Linked DNA regions of Homo sapiens: regions 2 and 3 are each linked to region 1. The links are contacts of gene promoters, found by promoter capture Hi-C in blood cells and fetal thymus (Javierre and others, 2016). All regions are on one chromosome and are shown on one strand. The core of a region is centred on a gene start or on the middle of the fragment in contact, and the rest is flanking DNA. Distances in the headings are between cores, read along the strand shown.

Region 1 (2,580 bases), core at 57-2,556:
GAACTGGGGTTACCTTTATGTGCTGTGAAAGGGGTTAAAAAAGTCGACGCCTGTAATCCCAGCATTTTGGGAGGCCGAGGCGGGCAGATAACCTGAGGTCAGGAGTTTGAGACCAGCCTGGCCAATATGGTGAACCTGTCTCTACTAAAAATACAAAAATTAGCCAGGTATGGTGACGCATGCCTGTGGTCCCAGCTACTCGGGAAGCTAAGGCAGGAGAATTGCTTGAACCCGGGAAGCGGAGGTTGCGGTGAGCCGAGATCGCGCCACTGCACTCCAGCCTGAGCAACAGAGCGAGACTCCCTTTTAATAATAAGAAGAAGAAAGAAAAAAAAAAAAAACCCGTCACGAACAGGATTCGAACCTGTGCGGGGAAACCCCATTGGATTTCGAGTCCAACGCCTTAACCACTCGGCCACCGTGACTTCCAAAACCGCGCTTTATCGCGCGCTTACAGAAGGGGTCCGCACTGCAATCCGGGAATGCGTGCGGGAACCGGAAGCAGGGTACCGGCCCCGACACACACACACCTGAGGACTCCCCACCCCTCGGTTCCTTACCTCCTATCTACGCCACCCAAAGAAAAAGAGTCGGATGGACTGGGTGACCCAGGGAGGGAGGGTCTCCTGCCTAGCGAAGAGTCGGGGTCTCGAGTAGGAGCTCACACCTACTTAGGAGGCGACAGCGAGGCCTGCGGAGGAAGCAGTTGAGGGAAGGCACTGGGCCGCCAGGGTGGCGACTAGGGGACATTTGGGTTAACAAGTGAGGGGAGTGCTGGGTGGACAAGGCGCGAGGAGTGAGGGAGACTCTGAAAAGTTTAAATGGGGAGCTGCTGTGAATGGATGGAAGGAAGGAACTTCTTGGGGAAAGGGGTTTGGGGTTTTGGGGGACGAGGGGCTTCGTCGGGTTAGGAATGCGCAAGGTGAGGACCACTCGGGTCTACGGGTTGGGGCTGCTCCAGCGACTGGCGGCCGCCTGGAGTGGGATAGCGAGGTGACACTCCCGAGCTGAGGCAAAAAGAGGGAAAGGGCTTCGCGTCTGGTAAGAGCGATCTCAGGAGAATGGCGCCCCCTCCAGGAAGCGTCCTTCTCCCCGGAGGCTCCCGCCTCCGCTGCCGGGGAGGCCGCCAGGGTCGGCCCGCGCCTGGAGCTCCGCCGCCGCGCCCGGCCTGCCGGCAGGGGGCGCAGCGCGGACCGGGGCCGGCCCAGGCGGCGGGAGGCGGCGGCCGCGGCGGCGGGAGGCGGCGGGAGGCGGGCGGAGGAGGAGGCGGAGGAGGCGGGAGCTGAGCTGAGTGGGGCGGGCGGCGGCGGGGCCCGAGCCGGAGAAGATGGCGGTGCGGAAGAAGGACGGCGGCCCCAACGTGAAGTACTACGAGGCCGCGGACACCGTGACCCAGTTCGACAACGTGCGGCTGTGGCTCGGCAAGAACTACAAGAAGGTACGCGGGCCGGGCCGGGCCGCGCGGGGACCGGGGGCGGGACAAAGGGACCGCGGCCCTGCAGCCCCGGGATCCTGCCTACCCTCCAGGCGCCCCAGCCCCTCCCCCGCGGCCTCCCAAGCAGCCCCCCGCGCGCCCTCCTGCGCTCCCGCGCCCCTCCCCCAGCCTCCCTCTCCCCGCACCCCCAGCCTCTGAGCCCAGCCCCCGCCCCCACTGCTGCGCCCTCTGCCCCTTGTTTTTCTCTACTGCCCGGCGGGCCCCGGTGCCATTAGCCCACCTTCCCCTCAGCCATCGCCCTCCTGGCTTTTCTGGGAGAGGCGGCCGGCCGGGTGTGGACCGGGTGCCCAATGGGCTCCCCCGCAACCCGGAGCGTGCCCGCCAGAGCTCCCCACGGAGCCAGGTACCAGCGGGGCTGAGGCCTCTCCGGTGCTTTGTGTATGTTCAGAGAGAGAGAATGGAAAGCAGGAGGGTAAACAGTCACAGAGCAAGCCGTTGGCTGCTCATCAGCCTGAAAAAGGTCTCCACCCAGGGATCACCTGTCTCCGCCGCTCATCCCCCACCTTCATCTAAGGGGCAACAGAATCTCTCAGGGAGCCGGGGTATAGGAGTTCCTGGGTAGCGGCCCCTTCCGAAACCTTTCCTCGATTTTACAATGAAGTCACCTTGCAACCTAGCTTTGCAGTACCCTGGGTTTGGGGTCGAGAGGTTAGGGTGAGCTTCCTATCTCTAGCCCCTCACACCCAAACCCCATAACTGGAGATCATAAGGTGGTGAACAAAAGGTTCAAGAATCCTTACCTGTCTTTTCTACCAAACCTCTTCCTGGTGTCGTCTTTGTCTCTAGGCCTGGTTTTCTCTGGAAATGGTCTGCCTCTCTTTTTCTCACTACCCTCAGAGAGGGATTCTCTTTATGGCTTTCTTTCAGCTCCCCAGTTCTTCCTGCCGGCTTTGCAGCTCGTCAGAAGTGTGCTTAGTGGCTTAGGAGAACTTCCTACTGATGCTGGTTGTGAGCCTGGCCCTGCCCTTGGGGTCTCTCTGGGTGTGAGAATCCTGACAAATAGCTGCTATTTCTATGGCATGTCTCTACGCCTGTGAGAGGCTCTTATTCCCAGGCTTCTACCTTTGACCTTTTGCAGGGAGATC
Region 2 (2,580 bases), core at 81-2,580, 300 kb before region 1:
ATAATTCAATTCAATGCTTAATTTTTGAGAAGGGCTGCATGAAGGAGAGACTTGTAGTTAAAAAAAAAAAACGGGTCTAATTTCTGGTTCTGGTACTTACTAGCTGGGTTACCTTATGCGAGAATTCTTAATTTCCTAGTCTTAGTTTCCTCACCTTCAAATTGAGACTAATAACTACTTTGTAGGTCTCTGGTAAGAGGGAGAGAGAAACTAAGCGGTTGGAACACCATGGGCACTCAATAATAGCTATCATTTACATAATGAGTCCCTACTAAATATGGATGCTGGGTTAGGCGCTGCCGAGATACAAGGTGAAAGTTCTAGCTGCAAATGGCAAAAGTCCTGAATGTTCTTGGATTTCAAAATGCTTTTTGTATATCGCCTCTTTTCTGCCCGTGAGGAGGACAAGGGCAAACAATTAAAATAGGAAAAATGTGGGGAGCACTTCATGGTTTATAAAACGTTTTTCTGCGTGCCAACTTATTTTAATGTCTTAACTTTCCAGATTTGAAAACAAGTCCTACACCAAATAAATGGTAGAGGGACACAAACTGGAACCCAGGCTTCCTAACCGCCAGAGCGACCTTCCCGCCGCCCAATGCCTCCCTGAGGTGCTGGTCGGCTGCTTCTGCCCGGGGTACCCAGCAGTCATCCTACTCTCCACTCAGCACCACCGCACGTCGGCCGCGCGCCACGCTACCCGCCGGGTTACTGGGCGCTGGTTTGGCCTTCGGAGGTCGAGGCTCTCTGAGTGACCTCCTGAACTGGGCTCACTCTTACTTAGCCTCCTCTCTCGAGGCAGCACCCTCCTCTCTACACGACAACTCCATCATTCGCAGCCCCACGGTGTTCCCGGGGAGCGCCTCCCGCCCCCACCGGCTTCGCCTCAGCTTGTCCTCGCCTTTCCCGCCCTCAGCATCCGCGGATACCCGCGCTCGCCGGGCCCACGCGGAAGCATCCGCAGACTGTCGCAAGGTCCCACCGTCTTGCTCTCATTGGGCAACCTTACCCTTTCCCCGCCTCAATGTTTTTGCTTCCTCAGTGATTGGACCTGGGCATTGTCCATTCCAGCTCCCAGGCACCGCCCTCTCTCCACCCACTAGAAAGCCACCCGGGTTCTCCTTCATCCCCAACGCTCCTCACCTAGCCCCTGTCCTGAGGGTGCCCCTAACCCTGGAGCCAGCTTTAAAGGGGCAGGCCCCTTCTCCTGCCCCAGCCCCAGCCCCACCCACCGGGCCCACATTCTCCGTCTTCCAGGTCCAGCGCTCCCTCACAGAACTCCCCCGCACCTTGTCTCGCTCGCTCCGCCCCTCCTTCCCAGCCACAGCTAGAGGTCCCGGGCGCACCTGCAGAGCCGGAGGCTTGCTGGGGCATGCGCTCCATGAAGGCTCTGCAGAAGGCCCTGAGCCGGGCTGGCAGTCACTGCGGGCGAGGAGGCTGGGGTCACCCGAGCCGGAGCCCCCTCCTTGGCGGGGGCGTCCGGCACCACCTCAGTGAGGCCGCGGCGCAGGGCAGAGAGACGCCACACAGCCACCAGCCGCAGCACCAGGATCAGTAAGGCTCCTGGGACAGGGCAGGGGACGGGCTTGCCCCCACTCCCACTGTGGTTCTCGCTAGTTCCCGAGTGCCCTTCCAAGGCAGCGCCGCTCATCTCCCCTCTCCTCGCTCACTAGCCCTCGGTGCCTTTTCCTTTGGATGTGGGGCTTTGGGTGCGCCGCGCTCGGGCGGTAATCTGCCGTCTGCCTAGGAGTGCGTTCGGGCAAGCGGGTCCTGGGGATGGCGCCTGTCCAAGGTGCGCACTTAACCCGGATCACAGATGCGCGCCGAGTGTTGCTTGGCTCACGTGTCTGAGTGCAGGGCCGGGCTCACGCCGCCAGTCCTCACCTTCCCTAGTCCTCGTGTGTATTTTAGGAGATGCGTGGATGTGGAACAGCCTCCTGCCTCCGGTCCAGGTGTACTGGGGTCTGTGTGTTGTGTTTCTGCGTGTTCTCGGCAGGTAATGTGTGATGCGCGTGTATTATTGGTGCGCAGGTACGTCCATAAGTGTTGGGTGTGTGCGTAGCAGTGCTCCCTGAACAGCAGAATGGGGGGGAATTTCCAAACTGGTTGTTGAATGGGGAGAATATTTGTAATGGAGGAAAGGTCTTTAAGACGCAGATTTCCCAAACCAGAGCCAGTCAGAGCCTTTATTTGTGCTGCCCAGGCTCCAGAATCTAAAACGTTCTCTTCCTTTGGGTGTTTCTTCCACCCAGGATGCCAAACCTTTATCTTCCCCACCGCCTAGGACACACTTGGTGGCTGAGCCTTTTTCTCTGAGACCCAGACGGTGCTGAGCAGGAAATCTTGTCCTCCCCAGAGGGCCAGCATAGACACTGTCCAAAGAGCCCCTGCTCTACTGTAGCAGGAACAGGAAATGGGCCATCTCCCTCGTCGCTGCCATCTCCCTGATGACACTCAGAAACATGGACACCATCAGTAAAGTAGCCAGACTGACACAACACTACCTCACCACTACTCGAGTCTCTGACACAACACTACCTCACCACTACTCGAGTCTCTGTCGTAAGGGACACCAATAGG
Region 3 (2,580 bases), core at 54-2,553, 270 kb before region 1:
GCAATGGCATGATCTCAGCTCACTGCAGCCTCCACCTCCCGGGTTCAAGCCATTCTCCTGCCTCAGCCTCCCAAGTAGCTGGGACTACAGGCATACACCACCATGCCCAGCTAATTTTTATATTTTTAGTAGAGACGGGTTTCACCATGTTGGCCAGACTGGTCATGAACTCCTGGCCTCAAGTAATCCGCCTGCCTCGGCCTCCAGAGTGCTAGGATTACAGGTGTGAACCCCTGCGCCTGGCCTTTATTTATTGTTTTGAACAGAGTCTCCCTCTGTTGCCAAGGCTAAAGTGCAGTGGTGCCATAAGCTTACTGCAGCCTTGAACTCCTGGCCTCTGGTGATCCTCCTGCCTTGGCCTCCCAAAGTGCTGGGATTACAGGCATGAGTCACCATGACTGGCTATTTTTCCTTTTACATTTTATTTATTTATTTTATATATAATTTATATATATAATTTATTTATATATATTTACATTTATTTATATTTTTACAATCTGGCCGGATAGGCAGTAAAATACTATTTTGTTTTCTTTTAAAGAGACACAGTCTCGCTCCGTCACCCAGGCTGGAATGCAGTGACATAATCATAGCTCACTGTAGCCTTGAATTCCTGGACTCAAGTGAACCTTCCACCTCAGCCTCCTGAGTAGCTAAGACTATAGGCACGTGCCACCACACCCTCTAATTTTTAAAAATTTCTTATAGAGACAGGGTCTTGTTATGTTGCCCAAGCTGGACTTGAACTCCTGACAAGGTAGTCCTCCTGCCTTGGCCTCCCAAAGTGTTGAGGTTACAGGCACGAGCCACCACACCTGTCCAGCGTAGATCGTTTATGGAACTCAAACCTGATATATTCTTCAGGTCCTGATAATATGAGCTGGCTAGGGAGTAGCTGCAGTAAGATGGTGAGTCAGTCCTGGACATCCTTAGAGGTGACTATGGTAATCACATGGGACCCACTGTGGAGGAACACAGCAAGAAAAATAGCTCTGCCTGCAGATTTCCTAAGCTATATAGACCCACTTGCTCTCTATTACTATGGATTATGGTTGTATAGCACTCTCTGGGACTAAGCAATGGAGCCTTCCTTATTGAAGTGGGGAGTAAGCTAGGATCACTGTCACTGTCCTAAAGTTTGAAAGACTGATCATTAGTAATCAAGAGCTAACTCAGTTAAGTATAGAGACAAATGAGAATTCAGGGTGATTACTGCTAGGAGCCATTAAGATTTATAATAACTTTGTAATTACTCAAATTTGTTATTTTACAAATCCTTTCTCCATTTTCATAGTCCCTGTTGGAAAAAACTTCAAAAACATTTGTATACTTACTTAATGCCAGAAGAAAAGAAAGGTGGAGAATCTATAGCTAAAAACATTTTGCAACCCCTGAAAAGAACCCCAAATACAAGAATGAAGTAGAATAATAGCAAAGGGGGGAACAAGTGAACAAGAAAAAAAGAGGAAGATGAACTGGAGTGTGTCCTGGCATCACCCGGGAGGGTTAGACCCCAGAAATCCCCTTATTCCTAGGCAATTCTCCAAAGTCACCTTCCTTGGCAGATTTCTTTTCTTTTGTTTTTGTTTTTATTTTGTTTTGTTTTTTAAGACAGAGTCTCACTCTGTGGTCCAGGCTGGAGTGCAGTAGTGCAATCATGGCCCACTGCAGCCTCAACCTCCACAGGCTCAGTGAACCACGCTAAGGCCTGGTTATTTTATGGTGTTGTTTTGAGACAGGGTTTCACTCTGTTGCCCAGGCTGGAGTGCAGTGGCACCATCACAGCTCACCGCCTCAGCCTTCCAAGTAACTGGGACCACAGGTGCATCCCACTTCTGAAGGGAGACACAGCCTTTTTTTGTTTTTTGTTTTTTGTTTTGAGATGAAGTCTTGCTCTGTCGCCCAAGCTAGAGTGCAGTGGTGCAATCTCGGCTCACTGCAAGCTCCGCCTCCCTGGTTCACGCCATTCTCCTGCCTCAGCCTACCGAGGAGCTGGGACTACAGGCGCCTGCCACCACGCCCGGCTAATTTTTTGTATTTTTAGTAGAGACGGGGTTTCACCGTGTTAGCCAGGATGGTCTCGATCTCCTGACCTCGTGATCCGCTCGCCTCGGCCTCCCAAGGGCTGGTATTACAGGCGTGAGCCACTGCGCCTGGATTGTATTTGTTTTTTGTTGTTTTTTTGTTAAAAAGGCTAGGCTAAGGCTGGGTGAGGTGCCTCACGCCTGTAATCCCAGCACTTTGGGAGGCCAAGGCAGGCAGATTGCTTGAGCCCAAGAGTTCAAGATAAGCTTGGGTCACACGGCAAAACCCCATCTCTACAAAAAATACAAACATTAGCTAGGTGTGATGGTGCATGCCTGTAGTCCCAGCTATTTGGGAGGCTGAGGTGGTGGGAGGATTGTTTGAGCCTGGGAGATTGCGTCACTACACCCCAGCCTGGAGTCTCACCTTTTTTGAGACAGAGCAAGACCCCGTCTCAAAAAAAAAAAAAAAAAAAAAAAAAAAAAAGGCCAGGTTCTATGGTTATGCTTGTAATCCCAGCACTTTGGGAGGCTGAGGTGGTAGAATCGGTAGGTT

Evidence for each region. Contacts are between HindIII fragments. The CHiCAGO score rates a contact against its expected background, and 5 or more counts as called.
Region 2: the fragment with the promoter of GLS2 here is called in contact with the fragment with the promoter of SMARCC2 in region 1 in 9 of 17 cell types (naive CD4 T cells, naive CD8 T cells, naive B cells and 6 more); the score reaches 7.9 in naive CD4 T cells.
Region 3: a fragment that was not itself captured here is called in contact with the fragment with the promoter of SMARCC2 in region 1 in 17 of 17 cell types (naive CD8 T cells, total CD8 T cells, naive CD4 T cells and 14 more); the score reaches 14.3 in naive CD8 T cells.

Annotation. Positions count from the first base shown.
Region 1 is chr12:56,188,209-56,190,788 of GRCh38, reverse strand. It overlaps SMARCC2 (SWI/SNF related BAF chromatin remodeling complex subunit C2), which reads left to right and starts at 1,306. Exons shown (of 29, transcript NM_001330288.2): 1 at 1,306-1,438. The coding sequence starts at 1,328. It overlaps TRS-CGA4-1 (tRNA-Ser (anticodon CGA) 4-1), which reads right to left and starts at 425; the gene lies at 344-425. It overlaps LOC107984468 (a long non-coding RNA gene), which reads right to left and starts at 97. Exons shown (of 2, transcript XR_007063330.1): 1 at 1-97. RefSeq lists an enhancer at 660-759 and silencers at 1,000-1,279, 1,350-1,569. The HindIII fragment of the contact is 5,408 bases long and covers 1-2,580 here.
Region 2 is chr12:56,486,911-56,489,490 of GRCh38, reverse strand. It overlaps GLS2 (glutaminase 2), which reads left to right and starts at 1,330. Exons shown (of 18, transcript NM_013267.4): 1 at 1,330-1,554. The coding sequence starts at 1,373. It overlaps LOC124902944 (a long non-coding RNA gene), which reads right to left. Exons shown (of 2, transcript XR_007063331.1): 1 at 2,539-2,580; 2 at 2,159-2,504. RefSeq lists a silencer at 984-1,413 and an enhancer at 1,574-1,793. The HindIII fragment of the contact is 16,217 bases long and covers 1-2,580 here.
Region 3 is chr12:56,459,694-56,462,273 of GRCh38, reverse strand. No RefSeq gene overlaps it. Among named protein-coding and RNA genes, the nearest start is that of MIP, 6.3 kb to the right of the region's middle. The HindIII fragment of the contact is 1,981 bases long and covers 313-2,293 here.